Regions from separate parts of the Homo sapiens genome. Here region 2 is linked to region 1. The links are contacts of gene promoters, found by promoter capture Hi-C in human tissues and cell types (Jung and others, 2019). All regions are on one chromosome and are shown on one strand. The core of a region is centred on a gene start or on the middle of the fragment in contact, and the rest is flanking DNA. Distances in the headings are between cores, read along the strand shown. Region 1 holds the start of GIPC1 (GIPC PDZ domain containing family member 1). Region 2 holds the start of RFX1 (regulatory factor X1).

What was found. Contacts are between HindIII fragments. The study calls those that stand out against the background at their distance.
Region 2: a contact is called between the fragment with the promoter of RFX1 here and the fragment with the promoter of GIPC1 in region 1, in 2 of the 25 tissues and cell types used here (dorsolateral prefrontal cortex and spleen).

The regions. Positions count from the first base shown.
Region 1 is chr19:14,492,278-14,498,490 of GRCh38, reverse strand. GIPC1 (GIPC PDZ domain containing family member 1) reads left to right here and starts at 2,364. Exons shown (of 9, transcript NM_005716.4): 1 at 2,364-2,454; 2 at 5,579-5,634. RefSeq lists enhancers at 343-842, 2,123-3,049 and silencers at 2,031-2,090, 2,231-2,460. The HindIII fragment of the contact is 12,252 bases long and covers 142-6,213 here.
Region 2 is chr19:14,003,556-14,009,768 of GRCh38, reverse strand. It overlaps RFX1 (regulatory factor X1), which reads left to right and starts at 3,449. Exons shown (of 21, transcript NM_002918.5): 1 at 3,449-3,666. RefSeq lists enhancers at 2,639-3,166, 3,167-3,694, 3,695-4,223 and silencers at 3,418-3,597, 3,648-4,027. The HindIII fragment of the contact is 30,728 bases long and covers 1-6,213 here.

The DNA.
Region 1 (6,213 bases), core at 1,115-3,614:
TGAGCCGAGATTGCGCCATTGCACTCCAGCCTGGGCAACAAGAGTGGAACTCTGTCTCAAAACAAACAAACAGACAAACAAAGGAATAGACTGCGTGCAGTGGCTCATGCCTGTAATCCCAGCATTTCAGGAGGACGAGGCAGGTGGATCACTTGAGGCCAGGAGTTCGAGACCAGCCTGGCCAACATGGCGAAACCCCGTCTCTTTTAAAAATACAAAAAATTTAGCCGAGCATGATGGCGCACGCTGTAATCCCAGCTACTCAGGAGACTGAGGCGTGAGAATTGCTCGAACCTGAGAAGCGGAGGTTGCAGTAAGCTGAGATTGCACCACTGCACTGCAGCCTGGGTGACAGAGTGAGGCTCCGTCTCAAAAAAACAAACAAACAAACAACAACAACAACAAAAATTAGCCAGGTGTGGTGGTACATGCCTGTGGTCCCAGCTACTCGGTAGGCTAAGATGGGAGGATTACTTGAGCCTAGGAGGTGGAGGTTGCAGTGAGCTGAGATCCTGCCACTGCATTCCAGCCTGGCCAACGGAGCTAGACACTGTCTCAAAAAAAAAAAAAAAAAAATTCAGAAAGGAGGTGCCCAGTGCTGCTCTGTGTCTTGAGCAATCCCACAATCCCATCACCCCTTCTCCGGGCACTTCCTCATCAGGAAACAGGAGCCAGTTGGAGTCTGGCTCAGGACTCTGCAGCCTCAGTCATGCTGTCCCCTGGGCTCAGCATCCCGTCCTCTCCAAGTGTGCAGGGGGCAGCTTAGATGCCAGGCTCAAGCAGGGCAGGCAGCACAGTCCCACAGAGGGTACTGGCCAGCCCAGGCAACTGATTGCTCAGTGGGATGGCAGAGGTCAGCAGAACAGGAAGGGACGGACAATAGCTGTGCCTGTTGCCTGGCCTGCCACAGCAATCTCGGTGTTTGCCAGCTGGGTGGGGCTGGCTAGGCAATCCTCAGCAGCAAAGCTCAAGGTTCCATCTCCCATTTTAGTTTGCCCCTCTGCAGGTCCTGGTGGGACTGATATGCACAACATCTCACCCTGGGAACTGCAAAGAACCAGTCTTTCTATGGAGCTTGAGCAGGGTCTCAGCACTTAGAGGCTTCCAGGAACTACAGTTCCCAGAACACACAGCATTCAGCCCCAGTTGCTGTCCAAGTGGCTGGGTTTGAACTAGAACAAGGAAATCTCACTTGTCCCGGGAACTGAGCGTCCTGGCCTGGTCCAGGTGCATTTGTGACTCTTGTTTCTTGGATCTGTGTCCACCTGATAAATCCCCCTTCCTTATAAACTACATGGTCTATTTGTCCACACAGGTTTGCTGAGAACCTGCCGTGTGGCAGCCTGAGGTGGGAGTGAGGGGTTGACAAGAGAGACTCAGCCTCCACCCTCACAGTCAGATGGAGGAGACAGATCTATGAAAGGCTGGCTGGGTACCTTCTGTGACCTAGCACATAAACAAACCAACAAGCAGATAAACTATCTCACCCTTGTCTTTCATTGCATCTTGCCTTTCCACACTGATTTACTAGCTCCCACGATATTGCAGTATCCTAAAGCGTGCTGTATCTCTCTGTCCGGCTTTTGCACGCTCTGTTACCTCTACCAGGAGCACATTCAGCTTATTCACTGACGCGTCTTCAGAGGTAGGACAGAGTCTGGCACGGAGCAGTCTGGCACATTAAATATTTGATGAGTGAGTGAACGAATGAATGAATGAATGCCTTTGTCCATTGTACAGCCCAGGAAGCAGGGAAACTCGGGACCCTCCCTATTCATCTCGATCCCCCGCCCGCCCCCAGAGATTGAATGCATCTTTTTATCCGCTCCGAGGATGGCCAGGCTGGGGCAGAGGAGGCCGGGCAGGGAACTGGGTTGGGGACTGCCATTGACCCCCACCCAGGTCTCCTAAACTGTCCGCTTTCCTGGACGTCGGAAGTTCGAATCCTTTCCCCGAAACCTGGCCTAGGTCACCTGACTCCCCCGCCCCTCACCACCCAGGGCACCCGAGACTGACACTCAGCCGACAGCACGTGGTTCAGGGGCCCCAGCTTCCTTCCCATTGGCCGCTTGTCTCCTTCCTCCCTCGCGATTGGCCGGGGCCCAGCTGCAGCTCCCCCCCCTCCTCAGCCCTCCGGTGGTACAGCCAGCCGCGGCTTAGGCGGGGCGGAACGGTCCACTGCTTCGCGGCGAGGGGAGGAGTCGGGAAGAGCCGGGCGAGGCGGAGGGATCCCTCTGGAATGTTTCCGTCGGGTCCACCCGAAGCGGAAGACGCGGATTGGCTGCGAGCACCGAGAGGCAGCCGCTGATTGGCCGGCCGCGGGCGTCGGCCCCGCCCCCCAGGCGCCGCTGCGGGAGAGGCCCGGTCTGGAGTTTGCGGAGGGCCGAGCCGGGTGCGCACGGGGAGGCGGAGGCAGCGGCGGCGGCGGCGGCGGCGGCGGCGGCGGCGGAGCAGGTGAGTGGCCTCTGCGAGAAGGATGTGTCTGCTCCGGGGGCCTCGGGGGTCGCGGGCCTGCGAGGATCCGGCCGATCCTGCAGGGTGGGGCCGGCGCCGTGGACGCGACTGGAGGTCTAGGCTGCGCGCGGGGATGCCGGAGGCCCCTTCCCAGGGGAAGCGGGGGTGGGGGGTGGTGGGGGCAGCTCCCTTCCTGCTGGCGGGCAGGGGACAAACGCCTCCCAACGCTGGGCTGGGGTTTCTGGGCTTGCCCCTCCCCCCGTCCCCCGGCTGGACTGTCCCCATCCCAGCGTGGACAGGCGCGGGGTCAGTGTTTCTGACCCTTTCCTGGGCACTTCCCCTGAGCTAACCGCGTCTGAACCCTCCAGGGCCTTGGGGGGGACGCAGTGAGGACCACGGTCTGAATAATAATCGTCATGAAAAACTCCACCTCAGCTAGCATTTATTGGAGAGCTTCCGTGTCAGGCATTTACCATGAGGATAATTGACTCTAAACACCTCATGGGAGGTGCTGTGCCTTCTTGTAAAAAAGGTGAGGCAGCCTACCCAGAGAGGTGGAGTGACTTGCCCAAGGTCACACAGCTAGTAACTGGCACATCTGGGACTGGAACTCATGCCCCAGGGTCCAGAACTGGAGTCACACCCACTAGACTGGATACCAATAACTCCACGGCTCAGTTGTTGCTGAGTAGCTCCGGCCCCCTACCCCTCCCACCCCCTACCCCGTACTCATCATCAGGGCCACACCTGCTGGTCTTTTGCTTTACCAGCCACTCAAACAGGAAGCTGCCCTCCTTTCCCTTCTCCCCAGAGCTGGAGAGGGCAGGTCTAACTACCTGGGTCCAGAGAAGAGAGTGGCGTCTGCAGGGGGCCAGGATGCTGGGGTCTGGGCCCACTGGGTTCCCCCCTGGCAACCTGGGCCGAGGCTGGGAAGTAGGCGTTCTCCCCGGAAACACCCAGGAGCCGGTTTTTCAAGAGTGAATCAGAGGCCTCTTTCCCTCCTTCTCTCCAAAGCAACACTGTGCTGGAACGGGGAGCCTGGGCGTGGTTTCCCCCTTCCCCTAGCTTCTGTGTGCTCCCAGGAACCCCCTTCCCCTCCTCCTGCTGGCCACACTGCTTCTGTGTGGCCGTGGGGTTGCTAAGTTTCAGGCCCTTCCCAGGATGAGGGGGTGAGGATGCTGAAATTCCAGCCCAAACACTCAATATCCGGGCTGAAGTGGCTCTTCATCTCTGTGTTCAGGTGTGAGGGGAGCCAGGGAAAGTGGGGAGCCTAGGACAGTTGGCAACCGCACAGCAGGCATGTTTAGGGGGCTGTTTCAAGGATGGGGAGCACAGAGAGCAATCAGAACGAGGACCTGAGACACATTCATTCACTCAGTCTACAAATATTTAGTGAGCACCTGCTACGTGCATGTGCTAGGCACTGTTCTTGGCACAGAAAATGCAACAGTGAACAAAACAAAATCCCTACTTTTGAGGAGTTGGCACTCTGAAAGGAAGGAAGCAGCCAACAAACAAGTTAGCAAGTAAATAAAGAAGATAATTTCAGATGGCACTAACTGCTATGAATAAAATATGAGCGGGTGGTACTGTAGAGAGTAGTTGTGGGCAAGGGGTGCCAGCCCAGCAAAGATCAGGCAAGGGGGCCCGGGCGCGGTGGCTCACGCCTGTAATCCCAGCACTTTGGGAGGCCGAGGCGGGTGGGTTGCTTGAGGTCAGGAGTTTGAGACCAGCCTGGCCAACATGGGGAAACCCTGTCTCTACTAAAAATACAAAAATTGGCTAGGGGCATGGCTCACCCCTGTAATCCCAGCACTTTGGGAGGCTGAGACAGGTGGGTCAAGAGGTCAGGAGTTTGAGACCAGCCTGATCAACATGGTGAAACCCCCTCTCTCCTAAAAATATGAAAATTAGCTGGGTGTGGTGGCGCACGCCTGTAAGCCCAGCTACTCAGGAGGCTGAGGCAGGAGAATCGCTTGAACCCGGGAGGCGGAGGTTGCAGTGAGCTGAGATCGTGCCACTGCACTCCAGCCTGGGCTACAGAGCGAGACTCCATCTCAAAAAAAAATAAAAATAGGCCAGGCGTGGTGGCTTATGCCTGTAATCCCAGCACTTTGGGAGGCCGAGGCAGGCAGATCACCTGAGGTCAGGAGTTCAAGACCAGCCTGACCAACATGGAGAAACCCTGTCTCTACTAAAAATATAAAATAAGCTGGGCGTGGTGGCACATGCCTGTAATCACAGCTACATGGGAGGCTGAGGCAGGAGAGAATCGCTTGAACCCGGTAGGCAGAGGTTGCGGTGAGCCAAGATCGCGCCATTGCACTCCAACCTGGGCAACAAGAATGAAACTCCGTCTCAAAAATAAATAAATAAATAAAAATAAACAAATACAAAATAAAAATACAAAAATTAGCCGGATGTGGTGGTGCGTGCCTGTAATCCCAGCTACTCAGGAGGCTAGGGCAGAAGAATCGTTTGAACCCAGGAGGTGGAGGTTGCAGTGAGCTGAGATGGCGCCACTGCACTCCAACCTGGGTGACAGAGCAAGACTCCATCTCGAAAAAAAAAAAAGAGAGAGAGATGGGCAAGGCCAAGGTCTTTAGGCTGGACCAAGTTTGGAATCACATGGTTGGAGCAGAAGATGAACCCAGAGCAGCGATTCTGCAGGGGTTTGTGGGTCACAGTAAGGAGATTGCAGTTTTTCTTCCAGAAGGTGGGAAACTGTTGTAAAGTTTCAGGCAGGGCAGTGATGCCATCTGGTTTACGTTTTAAAATAGAGACATGAAGTTAAATGACAGCCTGAAGCTGGAAGACAAGAGTTCTGCCAGGGCAGCATGCAATTAAGTTCATGGGCCTGAGCCATCTGTACCACAGGGGCAGTTCCAGCATGCTGGGGCAAGCCTGGGAGGCTTCATGGAGGAGTGGGCCTGGAGTAGGTATTGGCAGGCAGAGAGGGTTGGGATATTCCTGGGCAGGGCAGGGCAGAGGAGGAGACACCCATAGTAATGACAACAGCGTCCTTAAATGGAGTCTGAGGCAGAGTGTAGATGGGATACGTGGGTAATCTCTTTGGATTTCCACAACCACCTTGAGAGTGACAGGAATTCCACCCATTTTTCAGATGAAGAAACTGAGGCCCTGTGATGTGAAGTGACTTGCCCCCCAGCCACACAGCTGGTAAGTGGCAGGGGTGGGATTTGAACCCAGGCCACGAAGCCTCTTATGGCCGTGGCAGGCAGATTCATTACTCACTCACTTTCCTCACTGCTGTTAATGCCTCCTCACGGGTGGGGACACGGAAGCTGGCATGAACCAGGGCAGTGGGGTGGGCAGAGAGAGAGAGTAAGGAGGCTGGGAATTGGTGGTCAGGATGTAGGGATCTTGGGAAAAGGAGGAAGCTTGAATCTTGGTACAGATGGCAGTAGCAAGGCCGGGTGCAGTGGCTCACGCCTATAATCCCAGCACTTTGGGAGGCCGAGGCAGGTGGATCACGAGGTCAGGGGATCGAGACCATCCTGGCTAACATGATGAAACAGCGTCTCTACTAAAAATACAAACAATTAGCTGGGCATGGTGGCGGGCACCTGTAGTCCCAGCTACTCGGGAGGCTGAGGCAGGAGAATGGCGTGAACCCGGGAAGCAGAGCTTGCAGTGAGCTGAGATCGTGCCACTGCACTCCAGCCTGGGCAACAGAGCGAGACTCCGTCTCAAAAAAAAAAACAAAAGATGGCAGTAGCAGTAATTGTCACCAATATT
Region 2 (6,213 bases), core at 2,200-4,699, 490 kb after region 1:
CACGCCCGGCGAGGTCTTTATTTTTATTTATTTATTTATTTATTTATTTATTTATTTATTTATTTATTTGAGATGGAGTCTCACTCTGTCACCCAGGCTGGAGTGCAGTGGGGTGATCTCGGCTCACTGCAACCTCTGCCTCTCGGGTTCGAGCGATTCTCCTGCCTCAGCCTCCAAGTAGTTGAGATTACAGGTGCCCACCACCACGCCCATCTAATTTTCGTATTTTTATTAGAAATCGGGTTTTGCCATGTTTTCCATACTGGTCTCGAACTCCTGACCTCAAGTGATCCGCCCACTTCCGCCTCCCAAACTGTTCGGATTATAGGCATGAGCCACTGCACCCAGCCAGCAAGGTCTTTATGAACTGTATTTTGCGCTGACCTCCTGTCTTATCCTGTGACTAAGAATGCCTTAACCATTTAGGAATGAAGCCTAGCAGGTCTCAGCCTCATTTTACCCAGTTCCTGTTCAAGATGGAGTTGCTCTGGTTCACACGCCTCTGGCAGAGAGGGCACCTACTTCCTCTCTCTGGGCATCCATTGCCCACCTGTCAAGAGCGGGGAGCGTCCCACTTTGCTGGGTTCGCTGGGAATTATGTGGCTATTATTACCTCTACAACCTTATCTCTCCTGGCTTTAGCAGAAGTTCCTGTTCCCAGCTTTGAAGGCAGTTCTCTCCCCCCGTTTTTTTTTTTTTTTTTTGAGACGGAGTCTCACTGTGTTGCCCAGGCTGGAGTACAGTGGCGCGATCTTGGCTCACTGCAACCTCTGCCTCCCAGGTTCAAGTGATTCTCCCACCTCAGCCTCCCCAGTAGCTGGGACTACAGGCACGTGCCACCACACCGACCTATTTTAGTATTTTTAGTAGAGACAGGATTTCGCCGTGTTGGCCAGACTGTTCTGGAACTCCTGAACTTGGCCTCCCAAAGTGCTGGGATTACAGGCATGAGCCATCATGACCGGCCCCTCCACCTGGATTTATGAGGCTTGCTTCGTCTCTCACCACTCAGGCTCATTCTGTGGGACATCCCCCCTCAGATAACACTGGCTACAGCATCCTCTCATTCTCCTACCCCACTCTCTTATGTTGCTCTCAGGACTCTAAGGAGCCTATCTTACAATTTATCTGTTTATTGTGTATCCCATCCTAGAATGCAAAGGGAGTTGTTTGCTTTCTTTTTTTTCCTTTTTTTCTTTTTTTTCTGAGACTCAGGCTGGACCACACAATCATTGCTTACTGCAGCCTCTACCTCCGGAGCTGAACCAATCCTGCCAGCCTCAGCCTCCAGAGTAGCTGGGACCACAGGCACATGCCACCACGCCTAGCTAATTGCTTTTTTTTTTTTGAGACAAAGTCTCGCTCTGTCGCCCAGGCTGGAGTGCAGTGGCAGAATCTTGGTTCACTGCAACCTCCCCCTCCCGGGTTCAAGCAATCCTCCTACCTCAGCCTCCGGAGTAGCTGGGATTACAGGCATACACTACCATGCCCAGCTAATTTTTGTAGAGACGGGTGTCTTGCTTTGTTGCCAAGGCTGGTCTTGAACTCCTTGGCTCAAGCAATCTTCCTTGCTTGGCCTCCCAAAGTGCTGGGATTACAGGTGTGAGCCACCATAAATGAAGTCACCTTTCTTCACTTGTATAGCCCAGGGCCTTGCACCGAGGAAATATAATGTTGGTTGAATTAGGAAACAAACTTAGGTGGAGTCACTTTCTGAATGCCACACAGCAGGGCTGGCATTAGACTTCAGGGCTGTCTGAGCCTGTTTTCTTTTCCCCTTGCTGTTCTAGGGCCTACCTGGGATGAGAATGCAAAATTTAAGAGAAGGCCAAAGAGCTCAGTCATAAGATAATTGACATTTAAAACATAAAAAGTAGGCCGGGCGTGGTGGCTCACGCCTGTAACCCCAGCACTTTGGGAGGCCGAGGCGGGCGGATCACGAGGTCAGGAGATCGAGACCATCCTGGCTAACACGGTGAAACCCCGTCTCTACTAAATATACAAAAAATTAGCCGGGCGTGGTGGCGAGCACCTGTAGTCCCAGCTACTCGGGAGGCTGAGGCAGGAGAATGGCGTGAACCTGGGAGGCGGAGCTTGCAGTGAGCCGAGATTGCGCCACTGCACTCCAGCCTCAGCGACAGAGTGAGACTCCGTCTCAAAAAATAATAATAATAAATTTATTTTAAACACAAGATCTGACCCTGAGCTTGCATAACGCATCTCACCTTAATCCCTGTGTTGGCGGATCCTGTCTTTATTTAAAATTGTGATGTTTTGTTCATCATAGATTTATTTTTTCCCATTAATTTGGATATTTAACAAATATTGAATTAGAAGATTATTTATCTTGATGACTGAGTTTTTGCTCCCAAGATGTTCACCCTAGTCCGGGCCCTGTTTCTGTCTCTTCTCGTCCTGCAGCACCCAGACAGTCCCTTGAGGAAACTGAGGCACAGAGGAGCGTATGTGTGGGAGGTGTGTGTGTGTGGCGGGGGTTGTGGTGAGCTCTCCTGGGCGGACCAAGCTCCCTGGGCTGGGTCGGGGCTGACCTTTGCTTATCTACCGCGGTTGAAGCCGCGAATGAAGTCCCCCGCCTTGCAGAGACCTTTCCCAAGGCGGCCGCACCGCCTGCGGGGCAGAGATAGCCGCGGTCACCCCGGCAGCGGTGACCTTTTCCGGCTGGAGGGGACCGGGAGGCGGGAGAAGGCGCGGCGGCCGCGCTGTCTGGCCGGCTTGGGCGGAGGAGGATGTCACCCCAGCGGGTGGGAGCTGGGATCGAACCCCGCCGCGGCCTCCCGCTTCCACCCAACCCCGACGGGGCCATGGGCAGTGGGGAAGGGGGACGCGCGCCCAGTGACGTCATCGAATCCCGAGTCCGGCCTTCGCCGCTGTCGTCACAGAGGGGCTGCGCTGCGTCACTGCATTCCTCCCCTGACGTCAGCGCAAGAAGCCAGAAACTGGCCCACCGAGCGAGAGAGAAGTCTGGAGCGGAGTCTTCCTTTCTCGCCTTTTTAATTTGGTAAGACATGTAAAGTGTACGCAAGAGCGGACTACAACTCCCAATCGGCCTTGCGTGCCGAGCATGCGCACGGCCTCCAGCCAGAGAGCGCGGCAAACCTTTGGTAGATTGACGTCCCTTTAGTCGAACCAGGAGGCCGGTTTTACATCGGCAAACCAATCCCGTCCTCACGAGTCCTACCCCTTTATTCTTAACCAGCTGCTTCCCTGCCGGAGTGACGGGCCCGGCTGCCTTTGAGGGTTCAGTTTCTTTTGATGGACATTCATACTGATAAATCAGATCGCCGGGAAGTCCAGAGGGTGTTGAAAAGCGTGCATCGGAACTAATAGTTTAGCTGCAAGGCCTGGCGCCGTCCAATCACTTCTCCGGCCGCCGCCAATCACCCCGGGCCCCGCCCCCGCGCGTGACGTAACTAGGGTGGGTAGCAACAGTTGCCCCGGTGAGGGAAACGGAGGCGCCATAGCCACGGTAGTCGTGGCGACCAAGCAACCCGGCAACGCGAGTCAACAACAACAACCGCCCGGCCGACCCCCACCCCCACCCCCCAGGCCCGGCCCGGGGACCCCAGCACGTCCCGTCCCCTTCCCAACATCGACTCCGAGACCTCCGAAAAGCGTTTCCGCAGACAGAAGTGGGGAGAAGCGGAGGTAACCAGGGCGGCCCCGGGGTGGCTGGCCGGGCCGGGGTGGGCGGCGGGGCCGGGGCAGTAGGTGTCTCTGTAATCACAGTCCGGGGGGAAGGGGCGGGCGGTCAAAATGGCGGCGGCGACTGTCTGGACCGTGGGGGAGGGGGCCGGGGCCCGGCTGGAACGACACCACCCGCCCCCGTCCCCGCGGCCCGGCCCCCGCGAGGGGCGGGCGCTCGCAGGCCCGCGGCGAGTGGAGGTCGGCAGGCCGGGGCGGGGGGCTTTTATATGTCGGGAGCGCGAAGGGGCGGGCCTGGGGAGGCTGGGCCAATGGGAGCGAGGGAGGTACGAGGCGGGGCCAAGGTGGGTGGGCGGGACCAGGAGGGAAGGTATGGGCGGGGCCGGCTGGGTCTCCCCAACCTCCACCTCGGGAACCAGGGTGGGCAGCCACCACCCGGTCCGCCTTCCAGATCCTTAAGCGACTCCCTTCTTCCTTAAGAGCTTTGCAGTTGTCCCAGGACTCAGAACTTGGACAAGTGCCTGTCCATCTGAGGCCTCAGTTTTCCATCCTGTAAAATGGGGAGAATCATTGACATCGCCCTTTTCCTGCAGTACCGGGACTCCTCATTCCTTCCAGGAATTTTACTTACGGCTTATCTTTGAACCTTTTCCTCGTATCTACCGTTTCTGAATGTGGTTTGATAAAATAACTGTCAGCTAGTCCTGATTTCAACACTGCAGCCCACTCCTAAACCTGCCACCTTCTCTCTGGGAGGAAGCAAAGAGGAAGCAAAGTTTCATGGAGGAGCTAGGAGTCGATTTGGCTTTAGCGTGGAGGATCTGGTTTGCAGAAATCAAAGTCCATGGTAGGGAGGAGTGACCATGAGGGAATGCTTTAGAGGAACAGAAACCTGAGTGCTTTTCTCTGGGCTGCTGTTTGAGACCTGATGTTTCCTGGTTTGAGGTTGCGGGGGTTTGTTCCTGGAGATGGAACGTTTCTGGGTCCTGCCCATCGAGGTCTCCCCTACTGGGAATGGGGGAGCAAATGAAGCCTGAGGAAGTTTCTTAGATTTTTTAAACCCGCTTCTCTTGGCCAGACACATGTTTTTGTGTCAAACGAGTGTCAACCGAGTCACATGTCACTGACAAGGTCCCAGCCTCTAGGGCCACGTGGGCAGGAGCGGTCAGAGGGAAGGGGAAGCTATCCATGTTTGTGAGAGGAGAATCTTTGCCACTGCTTTTTAGGGTGACAATATCCTGCCAGCTCGGGGAGGAATTTTTTTTTTAAGTAGCCAGCCAGGCCAAGTCTAGTTGGCTTATTCTCCGTCTTGCTTTTGAGCTTAGTGTCGGTGTGCAAACTGCAGCCATTTCCTTTTAAATCAGTCAATACATTCCAAGGAAAAGGATCATTTCAGGCTTTTTCCCAAGAGTTTGAGATTGGTCTGGTGGGGGTTGGCGGGTCCTAACTTCTCCAGGTACTTTTTCTAGGCCTGGCCCTTTTTAGAGGAGGCAGGGACTCTTTGAAAGTTAGGACAGGTGGAGATTAATTTTCAGTAAAACAAACAAAAAAGCTAGAAATGCCAAGTTGCTAGACGGATCATCAGCACTTTTTTTTTTGGAGACGGAGTCTCACTCTGTGGCCAGGCTGGAGTGCAGTGGCTTGATTTTGGCTCACTGCAGCCTCCGCCTCCCGGGTACAAGTGATTCTCCTGCCTCAGTCTCCTGAGTCGCTGGGACTACAGGCGCTCGCCATCATGCCCGGCTGATTTTCGTATTTTTAGTAGAGACGGGGTTTCACCATGTTGGTCAGGATGGTCTTGATCTCTTGACCTCGAGATTTACCTGCCTCGGCCTCCCAAAATGCTGGGATTACAGGCGTGAGCCACCGCGCCCGGCTAGCCCTTCTTAAAAAAGCTAACTGAGCAGGCTGGGCGTGGTGGCTCACACCTGTAATCCCAGCACTTTGGGAGGCTGAGGTGGGCGGATCACCTGAGGTCAGGAGTTTGAGACTAGCCCGGCCAACATGGTGAAACCCTGTTTCTAAAAAAATTAGCCAGGCGTGGTGGCACATGCCTGTAATCCCAGCTACTCGGGAGGCTGAGACACAAGAATTGCTTGAGCCTGGGAGGCGGAGGTTGCAGTGAGCTGAGATCACAGGCCACTGCACTCCAGCCTGGGCAACAGAGTGAGACTTGTCTCAAAAAAAAAAAAGCTAACTGAGCAGAAAGTGATGTTACCAATTATCTGGTCATGTTGACTGCCTCAGTCACCAGTTACATTTACAGATGAAGGGCCTGAGGAGTCATTTGACTAGGAAGAGAACACTAGGGTGATTTGAAGCTGACTTGAAACAGTCAGCTTTTCTAGCTGTGTGCTCTTAGGTGAGTTACTTAAGTTTTCTGGGCCTCAGTTTCCCTTCCTTTCATCTAGGGGCAGTAATCCTTGGTAGTCCTTTCAATCTCATGTTTCTGTGCTATGGATCCCAGAAAATAATACCTGTTGAATATCAAATACATAGGAATTGCTGAAACTAACTAAATACAAAGTAATTGCTAATGTAGTTATGTTA